Regions from separate parts of the Homo sapiens genome. Here regions 2 and 3 are each linked to region 1. The links are contacts of gene promoters, found by promoter capture Hi-C in blood cells and fetal thymus (Javierre and others, 2016). All regions are on one chromosome and are shown on one strand. Each heading gives the region's core, a stretch centred on a gene start or on the middle of the fragment in contact. The rest is flanking DNA. Distances are from core to core; before and after follow the strand shown. Region 1 holds the start of ABCF3 (ATP binding cassette subfamily F member 3). Region 2 holds the start of HTR3D (5-hydroxytryptamine receptor 3D). Region 3 holds the start of HTR3C (5-hydroxytryptamine receptor 3C).

Region 1 (4,735 bases), core at 1,039-3,538:
AATTATGGATTGTTCCAGGACGGCAGGCGCTCTGTAAGCGACAGCGGCTGCTAGTTACTCCCTAGCCGGGAGTCCTCACCTGCCAGCAGCAATCTGGGCAGTGAGCTCCCGCTCCCTCCGTAGCAAATCCTCTCGCACACTGTCACTCTCCAGCACACTCTGCAGGGCAGGAGTGTCATCTCCAGCAACCTCTTGCTCAACGTGCAGCAGGGAAATGTGGGCTGGAACCCGCAGACTCCGGGTGGCCAGCATCTTCAGTAACGTTGTCTTCCCCAACCCATTCCGCCCCACCAGCCCGTAACGGCGGCCCCATGCCAGGTTCACATCCGCTCCAGCCAGCAGTACTCTGCAGGAGTGGAGAAAGGAGACCAAAGATGCTCTAGAAATAGGTGCACAGCAAGTTTAATGACAAACCTAACATTGTTTATAGCCCCGTTTCACCTCTCCAAATTGTCCTCTAATTAGAAAAAGAAAGCCAACCCCTGCCACCACTATTCCCTCACCTATCGCCAAAAGACACATCAAAGTTCTCAATTCGCACATCATAGGATTTGTTCTTGCCAGATGATTCCAACCGACTCTCCTTTCTGCTGCCTGCCTGGCTGGCTGATGCCTCTTCTAAGACTCTTTAAAGGGAGAAATGGACAGCTCTTAGTGCTCCCCACCACCTTCTGTCCAGGCAAAAGCTGCTCTGCTCTCTTCTGAGCCATGCTTCCCCCACTCACAGAGGGTTGCTGGTCTTGAGCGTGTCCTTCTCTGAGCGCTTCTCCTGCTTTGCCTTAAGTCGAGCCTCGGCCTTCTCTAACTTCTTTGCATTCACTGTCTAAGGGTCCAAACACATCGACTTCACTCTCGGGTGTAGGCTCAGAAAGGAACCCCAAGAGAGAACATCTCGAGTAAACCCTCTTAACTTACCCATGATGAACAGACTCAAAGGCTCAGGAAAAGACATAGTCAGAAATCCCCCCAAAAGATACTCCAATTAGACAGTCAACTCCCAACCCCATCACAGACAGTCCCCTCCCTTGCTTCCTCCTCCTCACCGAGGACTGTTCCCTCTTTAGCAGTCCTGGAAGTTTGGTTCCACAGTCTGTAAGCGATAAGAAAAGCAGTCACCTTCTCCCTGAGGGAAGGGAAACTAACATTTTGAGTGACTAATAGGAACCAGGCACAGACACAGATGTTTTCTACAAAACCTTATAATACTGCAGATAGATGGCTATTATCTTCCCTGCACTAAAAACAAAACAAAACAAAACAAAACAAAACTCACGTAGAAGGATACAGAGGCATAGACAAGGCTGGGGACAGATAACCAACTCTTACAAGATCATGCAGCTGGTTAGCAAGTTGCAAAACTGGGGGTGAAAGCAAGTCTGTCCAGCTCCAGGCTCTTATGCTTCCTATCCTACCCAAGAGCTTGGAGGGAGAACCCTCCAACCTCCTCCCCACCCCCATCATGGGCTCTTCTGCCCTCGGTAAAGACATCAACTAGCTCCTACAACCTTGTCCTGTGGAAAAGACGTAGGAGCCCTAAGCTGCAGGCAGCAGATGGTTGGGGGCGGAGAAAAGCACAGGGGGGCAGTTAGTTCAACCTCCCCTCACTCTCACCGTAGTTCTCCGTTATCTTTGACAACTGGATAGGGGCGTCCAGTAGCACCTGGCTATTTCCCTGGCTTTGTGGCTCAGCCCTATGTGGGTAGGGATAGAAAGCGCAGAGTTAGGAGTTGAGGGAAAAGCTCTATGGCCATCAGATCTTCCTCCCCCACCTCTTGTCTCCGGACCGTTCGCCGTCCCTTCGCCCCCATCAACCCCTACTCCCTGGCACATACAGACGCAGAGTGTTGTACATGCGCTGGCACACGGCCCTGATGCCCGCGTCATCCTTGCTGTCCCCGGACACCTCTTGCAATAGTTCCCCTACAGCTTCCACCAGGTCATCCACAGACTCGAAGTCCGCGCTGCCGCTGTGCAAGACGCCTGGGCAGGGCGTGGTAGAACGAGGAAGGTATCGGGTAGGGTGGACACACAAGCAGTTTCAGACCCCAGACAGAGGCCCCAGTCCAGGCTCCAGACCCAACCAGCCCCCGGGACAAGAGGTCATGCAGAGGAGAGGCCTGGCAACAGTCCCGGGCACGACGCTCGCTTAGACTTTCCCCCGGCCTCCACTTCGGTCTCCCCAGCCGGCCGATTCAGTTCTGCTTACCGGTCACGTAGTCGAAGACTTGTCCGTCAATTTCGGGGAACTCGCTCCGCAGGATTTCGGCGCAAGTCGCCATGTTCCACTCAGGAACCCGTCCGCGCAGTCGCTGTGAGACCCCGGCCTAGGCCCGCCCCCCGCCCTGCCCCCGAAATCTCGCCCTTCCTTGCAAGGCGCATGTGTAGCGGTGACGCAGGAAAGGAGCGGAGTGCGCAGAGCCCGGTGGGCGGGGCGAGCGGGGCCTTGAGGAGAGGCGCCGAGTCTGCGCCGGAGCCGCGCTCTCTGCGCGTGCGCGACACCTTTTCCGCTGAAAGATTAGCCACATGTGCGGTTCTCGCTGCCTTCTGGGAGGTGGAGTTCCGGGAGCGAGGGGTGGGGCAAAGGCTGGGAGCTCAAGGTTTATCGGGGCCGCGAGGCACCCGTGGTCTGGCGGGTGGGAGCCTCCCAAGAGGCAGGCGGCTGATAAAGCACTTTGGCTTTGCCAGGTTTTATGCGCTCCCTCGAGGCGCGTCTGCTGCTGGTGCGTACCCAGTCAGGCCCATTTTGGAGCCTGCCCAGAGCTTTGCTGACTCACCCCGGTCCCTGACTCTCAGAAGCCCCCTGCTCAGTGCTTTGCTTTCGCGGGTCCCCAGACCCTACGGGCTTCTCAGCCTGGTGGCCAGCGCCACCCGCCTCCCCGCCGCGACCGCCTTTTCACTGTGTAATTCAGCCGACCTTTGTGAATTAAGCCCATTCAGTTCTTCCACCACCCCAGGGCACGACCAAATCCACCGCCAAAGGGCAAGAAAACCAGGACAACGTGGCCTGTATAAATTATTCCCTACCTACACCCTGAGCAGACTTCTCTGCACTCAATAAATGCCAATAAAAGGCTATTTCCTTTCACCGATTCCCTCGGGAAGTTAGGAATTTCCTCCAAAATGATGCTACTGCTTTATATTTAACGTGAATATTCCTCCAATTGGTCTCTAAAAGTGGCACCGAAAATTACATTATTACCCATTCATCCCTTTGGATTAAACATTGCCATCATGAGGCATCAATCCCGATATTGAACCATTTTACAGGAAATACAGGTAAAGAGGAATATGTTAAGTGACTTCATGGGGACAACAGGCAAATTCTGATGTGGTAAACTACAGAACTCTGGTTTCTTCCACAAAATTGCAAGACCTGAAGGGAAACATCAATTTTTAAAATTTGAGGAGCATTAACCAACCACAATGGACCTTATCTGGAAAAATTTGATAAGACACCTGGTTAAGTGAACACAAACTGGATGTGATATTAAGGAACTGGCCACGCATTGATCATAGTTGAAGCTGGGTGATGAGACATGGAGATTCATTATATTCTTTTTTTTTTTTTTTTTAATTTGAGAAGGAGTTTCGCTCTTGTTGCCCAGGCTGGAGTACAGTGGCGTGATCTTGGCTCACCGCAGCCTCCACCTCCTGGGTTCGAGCGATTCTCCTGCCTCAGCCCCCGAATAGCTGGGATTACCGGCATGCACCACCACGCCCGGCTAATTTTGTAATTTTAGTAGAGACGAGGTTTCCCCATGTTGGTCAGGCTGGTCTCGAATTCCGGACCTCGGGTGATCCACCCGTCTCGGCCTCCCAGAGTGCTGGGATTACAGTGTGAGCCACCGCGCCCAGTCCATTATGTTATTCTCCTTGCAAATCTTTCCTCCTACCACCCAGTCAGCAAGATTTGGGAAGCTTGGGTAAATGATGGAATTAAAAGGTCAATTTCTTAGGATGGCTACAAGACCAAATGTAAACTTCACACTTAATTTATGCTTAATCTAATTAGAAAACATCTGCCTAAGAATTAGAGAAAGAGCTGGGTGCTGTGGTGGTGCGTGCTTGTGATCCCAGCTACTCCAGAGGCTGGGGCAGGTAAGATCTCTTGAGCCTAGGAGTCCGAGGACCAGGGGGAATAAAAAGGAGCTAGGGAAAGAATCTATCCCCAGGGTACTGGGGCCCGCTGCGGCTGCATGCCCTTGAGGCTTTCTAAGAGGAGCCAGGAAACCTGGGCCCAGAACCCACAAGGATAAGGGCTTGGATGGCCCAGGAGGGGCCTAACTGGGACAAGACAAGGAAAGAGCCTTTAGAGTATTCAGTACAGAAAACTGCACGGAGAGCAACACCAGTTCCCTCCCCATGTAGCTCCCACATCAACACTAAGCCAGCAACTCCACTCTACAGAGTTTATTGGGTTTGTAACTGGACGAAGTCACACGTGTACAAAATGAAGCTCACACTATCCCAAAGCAGAGTAGGGACTGAGGCCGGGGATCCATTACTGGCCTTTGGGGGAGCTCTGAGGTGAGGGGCAACCAACCCTCCCACTCCAGAGCTGTGGCCACAGGGGTGGGAAGGAAAGGGAACCCACCTGGCTTTGGTCACAGAACTCAGAGCCTGGCATTAGGCCAGGACAGACAGGTGGATGGGAGAGCAGGAGCCTCAGAACTCCCCTGCCCAGGGAGCCCAGGGGCTGCTCCACCGGTCCCACTTGTAATGTGCTTGGCCCAGA
Region 2 (4,735 bases), core at 1,262-3,761, 150 kb after region 1:
CCATTGTAAGTACATACCACATTTAATCTGTCCATTCATCTGTCAATAGACACTTAGACTGCTTCTGAGTTTTAACTATTGTGAGTAATTCTGCTATGAACATAAGTGTACAAATACCCCGTTTTCACTTTTTTCGGGTATTTATCCAGAAGTATAATTATTTGGTTGTATGGTAATTCTATTTTTAATATTTTGAGAAAAAGCCATACTGTTTTTCCACAGTGGCTACACAATTTTACATCCTCACAAGCAGTGCACAAGGGTTCCAATTTCTCCACATTATCACCAACACTTGTTATTTTCTGGTTTTTTAATTTTGTTTTGTTTTGTTTTTTTGAGACAGAGTCTTGCTCTGTCACCCAGGCTAGAGTGCAGTGGCACAATCTTGGCTGTCTGCAACCTCTGCCTCCTGGGTTCAAGCAATTCTCCTGTCTCCTCCTCCCGACTAGCTGGGATTACAGGTGCCCACCAACACGCCCAGCTAATTTTTGTATTTTTAGTAGAGATGGGGTTTCACCAAGTTGGTCAGGCTGGTCTTGAACTCCTGACCTCACGTGATCTACCCGCCTCAGCCTCCCAAAGTGCTGAGATTACAGGCATGAGCCACCTCGCCCAGCTTCTGTTTGTTTTTTAATACTAGCCATCCTAGTGGGTGTGAGATATCTTACTGTAGCTTTGATCTGCATTTTCTTAACTATTAGTAACATTGAACATACACCTTTTCTTGTGCTTATTGGCTGTTTGTATTTCTTCTTTGCAGAAATGTCTATTCAAGTCCTTTGCCCATTTTTGAATTGGGTTGTTTGATTTTTTTGTTGTGAGTAACTAATTTTACAAAATCCAATCAAAGGGCCAGGCACGGTGGCTCATGCCTGTAATCCCAGAACTTTGGGAGACCAAGGCAGGTGGATCACCTGAGGTCAGGAATTTGAGACCAGCCTGGCCAACATGGTGAAACCCTGTCTCTACTAAAAATACAAAAATTAGCTGGGTGGGGCAGCACGTGCCGGAGGCTGAGGCAGGAGAATCGCTTGAAACTGGGAGGCAGAGGTTGCAGTGAGCTGAGATTGCACCACTGCACTCCAGCCTGGGTGACAAGAGCAAGACTCCATCTCAAAAAAAAAAAAAAAAAATCCAGTCAGAGGGTCCACTGCTCACCACTAGACCACTGCAATGTTGGGTGAGGACTTACAACTTCCAGATGGCAGACAAGGTGAAGGAGATGTTGACATGAGTGGCGACACTGTAGTTGGTGACTGGACCAATAGCCTTTCTGTCAAACACTGCTTGAAAGGCTGCAGGGTCCACCCTGTGCTGGCCAAAGCCTGGGCAATTGATAATCAAAGTGTCGCCATTTCCTGTAGTGAGCAGAGACTGAGAGAGGAGGGCCAGGGCTGGGGGGCCTGGAGAGTGTTTCTGCATGGAGAGAAAACAGGGGGCACTGGGAGAAGCATGTGAGCTCCTCCTTCCTGGTCCAGGAAGAGTAGGCTGAGCTGGTAGGCAAATGGTGGAAACTGATGAGGTGAGCTGAGTCAAGGATCCATCCTCAGTGCCATTGTTTTGTCCCCATGCAAAACCTGTCCAGATGTGTATGCAAACTCAACCCCGACCGCCACTTTACAGTGTCCTGCCATGTCCTTAACAATCTCACTGCAACCTCTCCACCTTCTGCCAGTGTCCTTCTCTTGCTTACCTCCAACCTGGAGCCATGTGGGTGATGTCAGTGACAAATTTTGCACTCACAGTTCTCCGCCTCGCTGTATTAATATGGCATAGATGCTAATAAATTAATGATAAGGGGAGTAATCAGATAGGTAGTGTGAGATATATGGGATCTTAAGGAAACAAATCAATTTCAGTTTTTCAATTTGATGAGTATTTACTGTGTCTTTACTATGTGCTGTGATTGTTCTAACATTTAGTAGTCTTCATCACTAGGATTATCTTAAAGAGTTCCCAGGCTGGGCTCAGGGGCTCACGCCTGTAATCCCAACACTTTGGGAGGCCCACGCGGGCAGATCACCTGAGGACAGGCATTCAAGACCAGCCTGGCCAACATGGTGAAACCCCATCTCTACTAAAAATACAAAAATTAGCCAGGCACGGTGGCAGGTGCCTGTAATCCCAGCTACTTGGGAGGCTGAGGCATGAGATCGTTTGAACCTGGGAGGTGAAGGTTGCAATGGGCTGAGATATTGCCACTGCACTCTAGCCTGGGTAACAGAGCGAGACTCCATCTCAAAAAAAAAAAAAAAAAGAAGAGAAAAGAGTTAACTAAATATTAGGATCCTAGGAAGAGGTACAAAGCCATCAGTGTCACGAGCATCATTTTTACCATAACGAACATCCAATCATTGACTATCTCAGAATAAAAAATATTAGCCTGTTTTCTCTGCTTCCCAGGAGTTACATGTCTGCTCAGCTCTTGCTCTTATCTTAAGGTACTTGCAGCAGCAGGTGGAGGATGAAGCCAAGGAGGAATCCTTTCCCATGGAACCAGCCTCTTTCCATCTTCCTCTCTTTGGCACTTCTCTGGGTACTTGATGATGATGTTAACCTTTAAAAAACCTCAGATCACACCTTGAGCCCTACCTTTGAATAATATATATATCAGCTGGCATTAACCGCCTCTCTAACAAGACCCCTTGGTGACAAAAGAATGTCACAGAGGAATAACTCACCCTGTGCTTTAACTGGGCCTGAATCTAGCCTCCAAAAGTAATATGGCAAATCAGTTTGGAGAAGAGGAAGCAAAAATATGTGGTCCCTGGAGCAGTGCTAATGGCTTCCTCATACTTTAAAGTCACTCTGGCGTACAGTGCCTCACCGAGAAGGCATGGATGACTACCACTGCCTCCAGGTGGCACGTGAACTTGTTAGACCCTGCTGTCATCTTTCTTTCTTTTCTTTTCCTTTCTTCTTTCTTTCTTTCTTTTCTCTTTCTTTTTCTTTCTTTCTCTTTCTTTCTCTTTCTCTTTTTCTTTCTTTTTTCTTTCTTTCCTTCTCTCTCTCTCTCTCTCTCTCTCCCTCCCTCCCTCTCTCTCTCTTTCTCCCTCCCTCCCTCCCTTCCTTTTTTTTTTTTGCGACGGAGTCTCCCTCTGTCTCCCAGGCTGGAGTGCAATGGTGCAGTCTTGGCTCACTGCAACCTCCGCCTCCCGGGTTCAATCGATTCTCCTGCCTCAGCCTCCCAAGTAGCTGTGATTACAGGCGCCTGCCACCATGCCTGGCTAAGTTTTTGTATTTTTAGTAGAGACGAGGTTTTACCATGTTGGTTGGCTGGCCTCAAACTCCTGACCTCAGGTGATCTGCCCACCTTGGCTCCCAAAGTGCTGGAATTACAAGCGTGAGCTACCATGCCCGGCCCCCTACTGCCATCTTTCAAAAAAGAAAGCGTGTTGGGGGGAGGGGGGTCCCTATTAATATAAGCAACTTCATACACTGAGGTTTTAAACATGACTTCAGTATAGTTAAGACTTTAAAGTATGAGGAAGCCATTAGCACTGCTCCAGTGATGACATATTTCTGCTTCCTCTTCTCAAAGCTGATTTGCTATGCCTTTTTAGTGTTTCAAAAGCAATCTGGACCCAGGTCTACCCAATGAAGGGAGTGATTAGTGGAGTAGGGGGTGGTGGCAGAGGTAATACTTTTTTAAAATAAAAGCTGACTTATGATTTTTTTTTTTAAATGGAGTTTCTCTCTTGCTGCCCAGGCTGGAGTGCAATGGCGCGATCTTGGCCCACCACAACCTCTGCCTCCCGGGTTCAAGCGATTATCCTGCCTCAGCCTCCCGAGTAGCTGGAATTACAGGCATGCACCACAAAGCCCAGATAATTTTTTTTTCATTTTTTTATTATACTTTAAGTTCTAGGGTACATGTGCACAACGTGCAGGTTTGTTACATATGTATACATGTGCCATGTTGGTGTGCTGCACCCATTAACTCGTCATTTACATTAGGTATATCTCCTATTGCTATCCCTCCCCGCTCCCCCCACCCCATGACAGGCCCCAGTGTGTAATGTTCCCCACCCTGTGTCCAAGTGTTCTCATTGTTCAATTCCCACCTATGAGTGGGAACATGCAGTGTTTGGTTTTCTGTCCTCGCTCGTTTTCTCAGAATGATGGTTTCCAGCTTCATCCATGTCCCTACAAAGGACATGAACTCATCCTTTTTTATGGCTGCATAGTATTCCATGATATATATGTGCCACATTTTCTTAATCCAGTCTATCATTGATGGACATTTGGGTTAGTTCCAAGTCTTTGCTATTGTGAATAATGCTGCAATAAACATACATGTGCATGTGTCTTTATAGCAGCATGATTTATAATCCTTTGGGTATATACCCAGTAATGGGATGGCTGACGCCCAGCTAATTTTTTTGTATTTTTTGTGTTTTGTTTTAGTAGAGATGGGGTTTCTCCATGTTGGTCAGGCTGGTCTCAAACTCCCAAACTTAGGTGATCTGCCTGCCTTGGCCTCCCAAAGTGCTGGGATTACATGCATGAGCCACCACGCCCAGCTGCTGACTTATGATTTTAAAGAAAAGGTCATGAGCTATTAGCCTGAAAGTTTATGTTATTTTTGGCCCTGCTAGTGTTTTTTTTTTCTTTTTTTAAAGTTAGTTGTGTAACACTTAAACATTGAGATTTCACATAAAAACTGTTTCTGGCTTCATTTGAAAAATAAGATCTAGCAACATGAGGCTCACGTTTCTGCTTGACAACAATCTGC
Region 3 (4,735 bases), core at 1,469-3,968, 130 kb after region 1:
TTGAACTAGAAAACTTTTAAGTCACTTTTTCTGTGTGTGTGTGTGTGTGTGTGATGGAGTTTCGTTCTTGTCATCTAGGATGGGGTGCAGTGGCACAATCTTGGCTCTCTGCAACCTCTGCCTCCCCGGTTCAAGCAATTTTCCTGCCTCAGCCTCCCGAATAGCTGGGATTACAGGCACCTGCCACCATGCCCAGCTAATTTTTGTATTTTTATTAGAGATGGGGTTTCACCATGTTGGCCAGGCTGGTCTCGAACTCCTGACCTCAGGTGATCCACCTGCCTTGGCCTCCCAAAGTGCTGGGATTACAGGCGTGAGCCACTGCTTCTGGCCCCTTTAAGTCACTTCTAACTCCTCAGGCTTAAAATTATAAATGAAGTGGGGAGGAGATAGTTGAATCTGCCTTACCAAATCCATCCACAGGAATGATGTCAGCAGCTGGAGCTGTGCATCCTGACAAGGAAATTTCCACTCAGGATTATTAGTGTTAAAAGGTTTGGCCAATGCCCACCTCATATTCCCACCAATATTTACTAATTTATTGGGCCAGGCATTGTTGTAGATGCTGAATTGTCTTTTCCTCACTCGTTTCCCCTGTGTCTATGGGCAATTCTGATTTTGATTAATATACAGACTACTTTTTTCTAGAGCATTCTAGAAATGACAGGATTCAAAGACAAATGCCTTCCTGAAAAAACATCACTGCAGTATTCTTCTTCGTGCCTCTCCATCGCATAGGAAAAGCATCTAACTTGCGTTAAATCCATCCAGGGTGCCTATTGTTCACCACGGGGCCAGGGCCATGTTGGGTTGACAGGGCAGAGGGTCCTCGTTCCTTATTAGAAGCCATGGAAAAGATGCAGGGACTAAGTCTCACCACTCCCAGGATGGCAGACAGGGTGAAGGAGATGTTGACACGGGTAGGGATGCTGTAGTTGGTGAATGGACGGAAGGCCTTTCTGTCAAACACTGCTTGGAAGACAGCAGGGTCAACCCCATGCTGGTCAAAGCCTGAGCAATTGATGGTAAAAGCGTCGCCTCTTCCTATAGAGAGCAGAGACTCCGTGAGAGAGGGACTCTATTTCCAGGGCTGGAGTCTCTCTGCAGAGAGATAAAATAGGGGACGTACTGAGAGGAGCAGGTGAGCCCCTCCTTCCCATGCCAAGACTCCCCAAGGCCATGGTTGGGGAGGATGGGCTGGGCTGGTAGGCAAATGGTGGAAGTGGATGTGGTGAGCTGAGGTCAGGGCTCTATTCTCATTCCCATTGCTTCATCCTCATGCAAAGTTTGCCCAAATCTGTATGAAAACTTGGCCTAAGTGCAATGGCAGCTACTTCCAGGAGTCCTTTAATGTACCCATCACAAGACTCTTGGCTCACCTAGCAGTAGAACTGCCCAAAACTTGTGGTCCAAGTCACCTAAAAATCGATGCTAATGTATTTCTCTCTCTAACTCTTAGGATCTTAAGTCTACTGAAGGCAAGAACTGATTTATCAAGAGGATAAGAGACATTTTACACAACTGCACTCACCAGGTAGATATGAGAAACACGGTAGGTATCTGACTGGGTGCTTACCTTGGTGCTATGCATTTATTTTGCTCTTCTCAGATTTAGTGACCTCAGTTGTCTCGTGGGTTATTTCTAGCATCGGGATCATGAGGTGACATCACTGAGCATACAGCATTTGTTCAGTCACAAAGTGAGGCCGGTGTGCCGGGCGCGGTGACTCACGCCTGTAATCCCAGCACTTTGGGAGGCCGAGGTGGGCGGATCACAAGGTCGAGAGATCGAGACCATCCTGGCCGACATGGTGAAACCCCATCTCTACTAAAAATACAAAAATTAGCTGGGCATAGTGGCGCTCGCCTGTAATCCCAACTACTCAGGAAGCTGAGGCAGGAGAATCGCTCAAACCCGAGAGGCGGAGGTTGCAGTGAGCCAAGATCGTGCCACTGCACTCCAGCCTGGGCGACAGAGCGACACTTCATGTCAAAAAACAAACAACAACAACAACAAAACCACAAAGTGAGGCCGGTGCAGATATTGTCTCTCGGCCATGGCCAGGGAGTCATCTGGGTAGTACCTGAGTGGCATCTTTGCTCCATCGCCATCATTATATGGTCCTTTTCTCTGCCTCCTTCTCTCTATCTCCATCTCTTTCCATAATATTTAAGGTATGTGTCCAGATTGGGAACAAATATTACCTCATGGAAGCAAAATATCTGCTCATTTCCACCTCAGATTGTCCCCTCCCTCAGGGCATGTTTAAAATCAGTGGCTACTCTTCTCATAGATATCATGTCAGGAGAAACAGAGACAAGGAGAGGGGGAAGAAGGGTGTGGTAGTGGAGCATCAGAAGTCAGTGAAAAGGTGGAATTGGAGAAGTGGTGAAATGAGACAGTTTGATAGATCCCTGTGCAGGCAGGAACAGAGAAAGTCTGTGTGCACTCATCAGTGAACTGTCTTTCTATCTGTCACCAAAAGGAAATCAGGACACAGACATTATGGAAGAAATATTTAACACATTAATTCTGAATGCCCTCCAAGTGCTAGAGGTGAGTCCAGGTGTCCCTCGGAACCACACTCTGGTCTTCCCTGTTCTCGTCCCATCTTACCTTGAAGCAGAAGACTGACAGTGAGGCAGAGGAGGGCACTCTGCCTTGCAGGCCACCCTCCTTCCATTCTTCTTTCTGGACTCTTCTCTGGGGATTCACCAGGAGCTCCCAAACCCTGGAGCTTAAAGGAGCTCAGACCACACCCTGGTTGCTGGTTTTGAATACTACTCATGGCAAGTGACCACTCCCTGTGACAGCCTGTGACCAGAGAGGTCCCAGCCAAGTGTCCTGCATTGGCTCTGCCCAGATGCACCTTCCGGGCTCCAGGCAGGCAGGAAATTGGGCGGACACTAGGGGAAAAGCATTCTATTTGGCAGCTGTGTGCTGAGATCCAAAACAAAATAACGTGCCTTAATGAGAGAATGTAGGCTGGGGAAATTAGGATTGTGTGCTTCCAAGACCAGGGAATCTGTGTGCACCAAGACCAGGTGCAATACTTAGTGATTTGGTTATGAATACCAAAGTATCTTTTTTTTTTTTTTTGAGACAGAGTCTCTCTCTGTCACCCAGGCTGGAGTGCAGTGGCACGATCTTGGCTCACTGCAACCTCCACCTGCCTGGTTCAAGCGATTCTCCTGCCTGCCTCAGCCTCCTGAGTAGCTGGGACTACAGGTGTGTGCCACCACACCCGCCTAATTTTTTGTATTTTTAGTAGAGACGGGGTTTCGCTGTGATAGCCAGGATGGTTTCGATTTCCTGACCTCGTGATCCACCCACCTCAGCCTCCCAAAACGCTGGGATTACAGGCGTGAGCCACCGCGCCCGGCCCCCTTACCAAAGTATCTTACAGCTTTTGTTGACATTGGAATTATTCCAAATGCCAAATTATAAAGCTTGGTTCATACCTTCATCATCTAGTGTCTATGCTTTTCCAGTAGCCCCTAACTAGATTTCCTCTTTACAGCGTCTCTGCCTTTCTGATTTATTCTCTCCAAACCAATGTTCTCCGTATAATTTTTAGGCTATGCACTGATTACATGATAATAGAACTCATAAAATTAAGATAGTAACACTTTGTGCTGTCAATAGTGTTAATATATAGCATTATTGTAAACTAGTAATCTCAGCTAACATCAATATCATTGGCATGTGTTAATATTATGTCTTATGTCACCACATTCCTATTAAAAAAAATTGGCTCAAATGAATGAATTGGAGCATTTTTATTTCAAGTATCTTAGCTACGTTTCCAGAAAGACTTGGACAGTTTTTCCTTGCAGAAAGGGTGAAGGGCCAGATGTAGAATACAAAAAAAACTTTGTTCAGAATTAGTGATCATGACAGCCCTAAGTAGAAAGTGCTGAGAAATGCAGGAATGACTTAGAGGCCCAAAGTAGGAAGGCACAGGAGAGGGCTGCAGTGGATTCCATTTGAGGTTTGCGGTAGCTGCAGTCCTTCAGACCTACCACCTCTGCAAGTAATTTCTTCCCTGACTTGGAAACTTGGCCAACTTGAGCCAGAGGTTGAAGGGAAAGAAAGAATCAAAGAGGGGAGAAAGAGAGGCAGAAAGGTGGCTAGAAGTACTGGAGTGGAAGGAGTGAGAAAGGGAGGAATAGAAGGGAACAGAGGAATTGCTAGAAAACCTGCTCCAGGCCAGGCACGGTGGCTCATGCCTGTAATCCCAACATTTTGGGAGGCCGAGGCAGGAAGACCGCTTGAGCCCAGGAGTTTGAGACCAGCCTAGGCAACACAGTGAGACCCCATCTCTACAAAAGGTAATTTTTTTTTTTTTTGAGACAGAGTCTTACTCTGTCACCCAGGCTGGAGTGCAGTGGCGCAATCTCGGCTCACTGCAACCTCTGCCTCCTGGGTTTAAGCGATTCTCTGCCTCAGCCTCCCGAGTAGCTGGGACTACAGGCACGCGCTACCACGCCCAGCTGATTTTTGTATATTTAGTAGAGACGGGGTTTCACCATGTTGGCCAGGATGGTCTTGAGCTCTTGACGTCGTGATCCACCCGCCTCAGCCTCCCAAATTACTGGGATTACAGGTCTGAGTCACCGCACCCGGCTAAAAAGTAATTTTTAAAAGGAGCCAGGTGTGGTGACATGTGCTTATAGTTCTCACTACTTGGGATGCTGAGGTGAGAGAATTGCTTCAGCCCAGGAAGTGAAGGCT

Evidence for each region. Contacts are between HindIII fragments. The CHiCAGO score rates a contact against its expected background, and 5 or more counts as called.
Region 2: a contact is called between the fragment with the promoter of HTR3D here and the fragment with the promoter of ABCF3 in region 1, in 8 of 17 cell types (megakaryocytes, neutrophils, endothelial precursors and 5 more). The highest score is 9.9, in megakaryocytes.
Region 3: the fragment with the promoter of HTR3C here is called in contact with the fragment with the promoter of ABCF3 in region 1 in 15 of 17 cell types (M1 macrophages, neutrophils, erythroblasts and 12 more); the score reaches 16.3 in M1 macrophages.

The regions. Positions count from the first base shown.
Region 1 is chr3:184,183,752-184,188,486 of GRCh38, reverse strand. ABCF3 (ATP binding cassette subfamily F member 3) reads right to left here and starts at 2,288. Exons shown (of 21, transcript NM_018358.3): 1 at 2,207-2,288; 2 at 1,833-1,980; 3 at 1,612-1,691; 4 at 1,044-1,090; 5 at 726-823; 6 at 504-626; 7 at 80-346. The coding sequence starts at 2,279. It overlaps AP2M1 (adaptor related protein complex 2 subunit mu 1), which reads right to left. Exons shown (of 12, transcript NM_004068.4): 12 at 4,396-4,735. RefSeq lists enhancers at 1,984-2,303, 2,781-3,495. The HindIII fragment of the contact is 6,180 bases long and covers 1-3,920 here.
Region 2 is chr3:184,029,518-184,034,252 of GRCh38, reverse strand. It overlaps HTR3D (5-hydroxytryptamine receptor 3D), which reads right to left and starts at 2,511. Exons shown (of 8, transcript NM_001145143.1): 1 at 2,446-2,511. The coding sequence starts at 2,511. The HindIII fragment of the contact is 12,637 bases long and covers 1-4,735 here.
Region 3 is chr3:184,051,030-184,055,764 of GRCh38, reverse strand. HTR3C (5-hydroxytryptamine receptor 3C) reads right to left here and starts at 2,718. Exons shown (of 9, transcript NM_130770.3): 1 at 2,618-2,718; 2 at 878-1,044; 3 at 409-453. The coding sequence starts at 2,684. RefSeq lists an enhancer at 964-2,163. The HindIII fragment of the contact is 4,846 bases long and covers 1-3,452 here.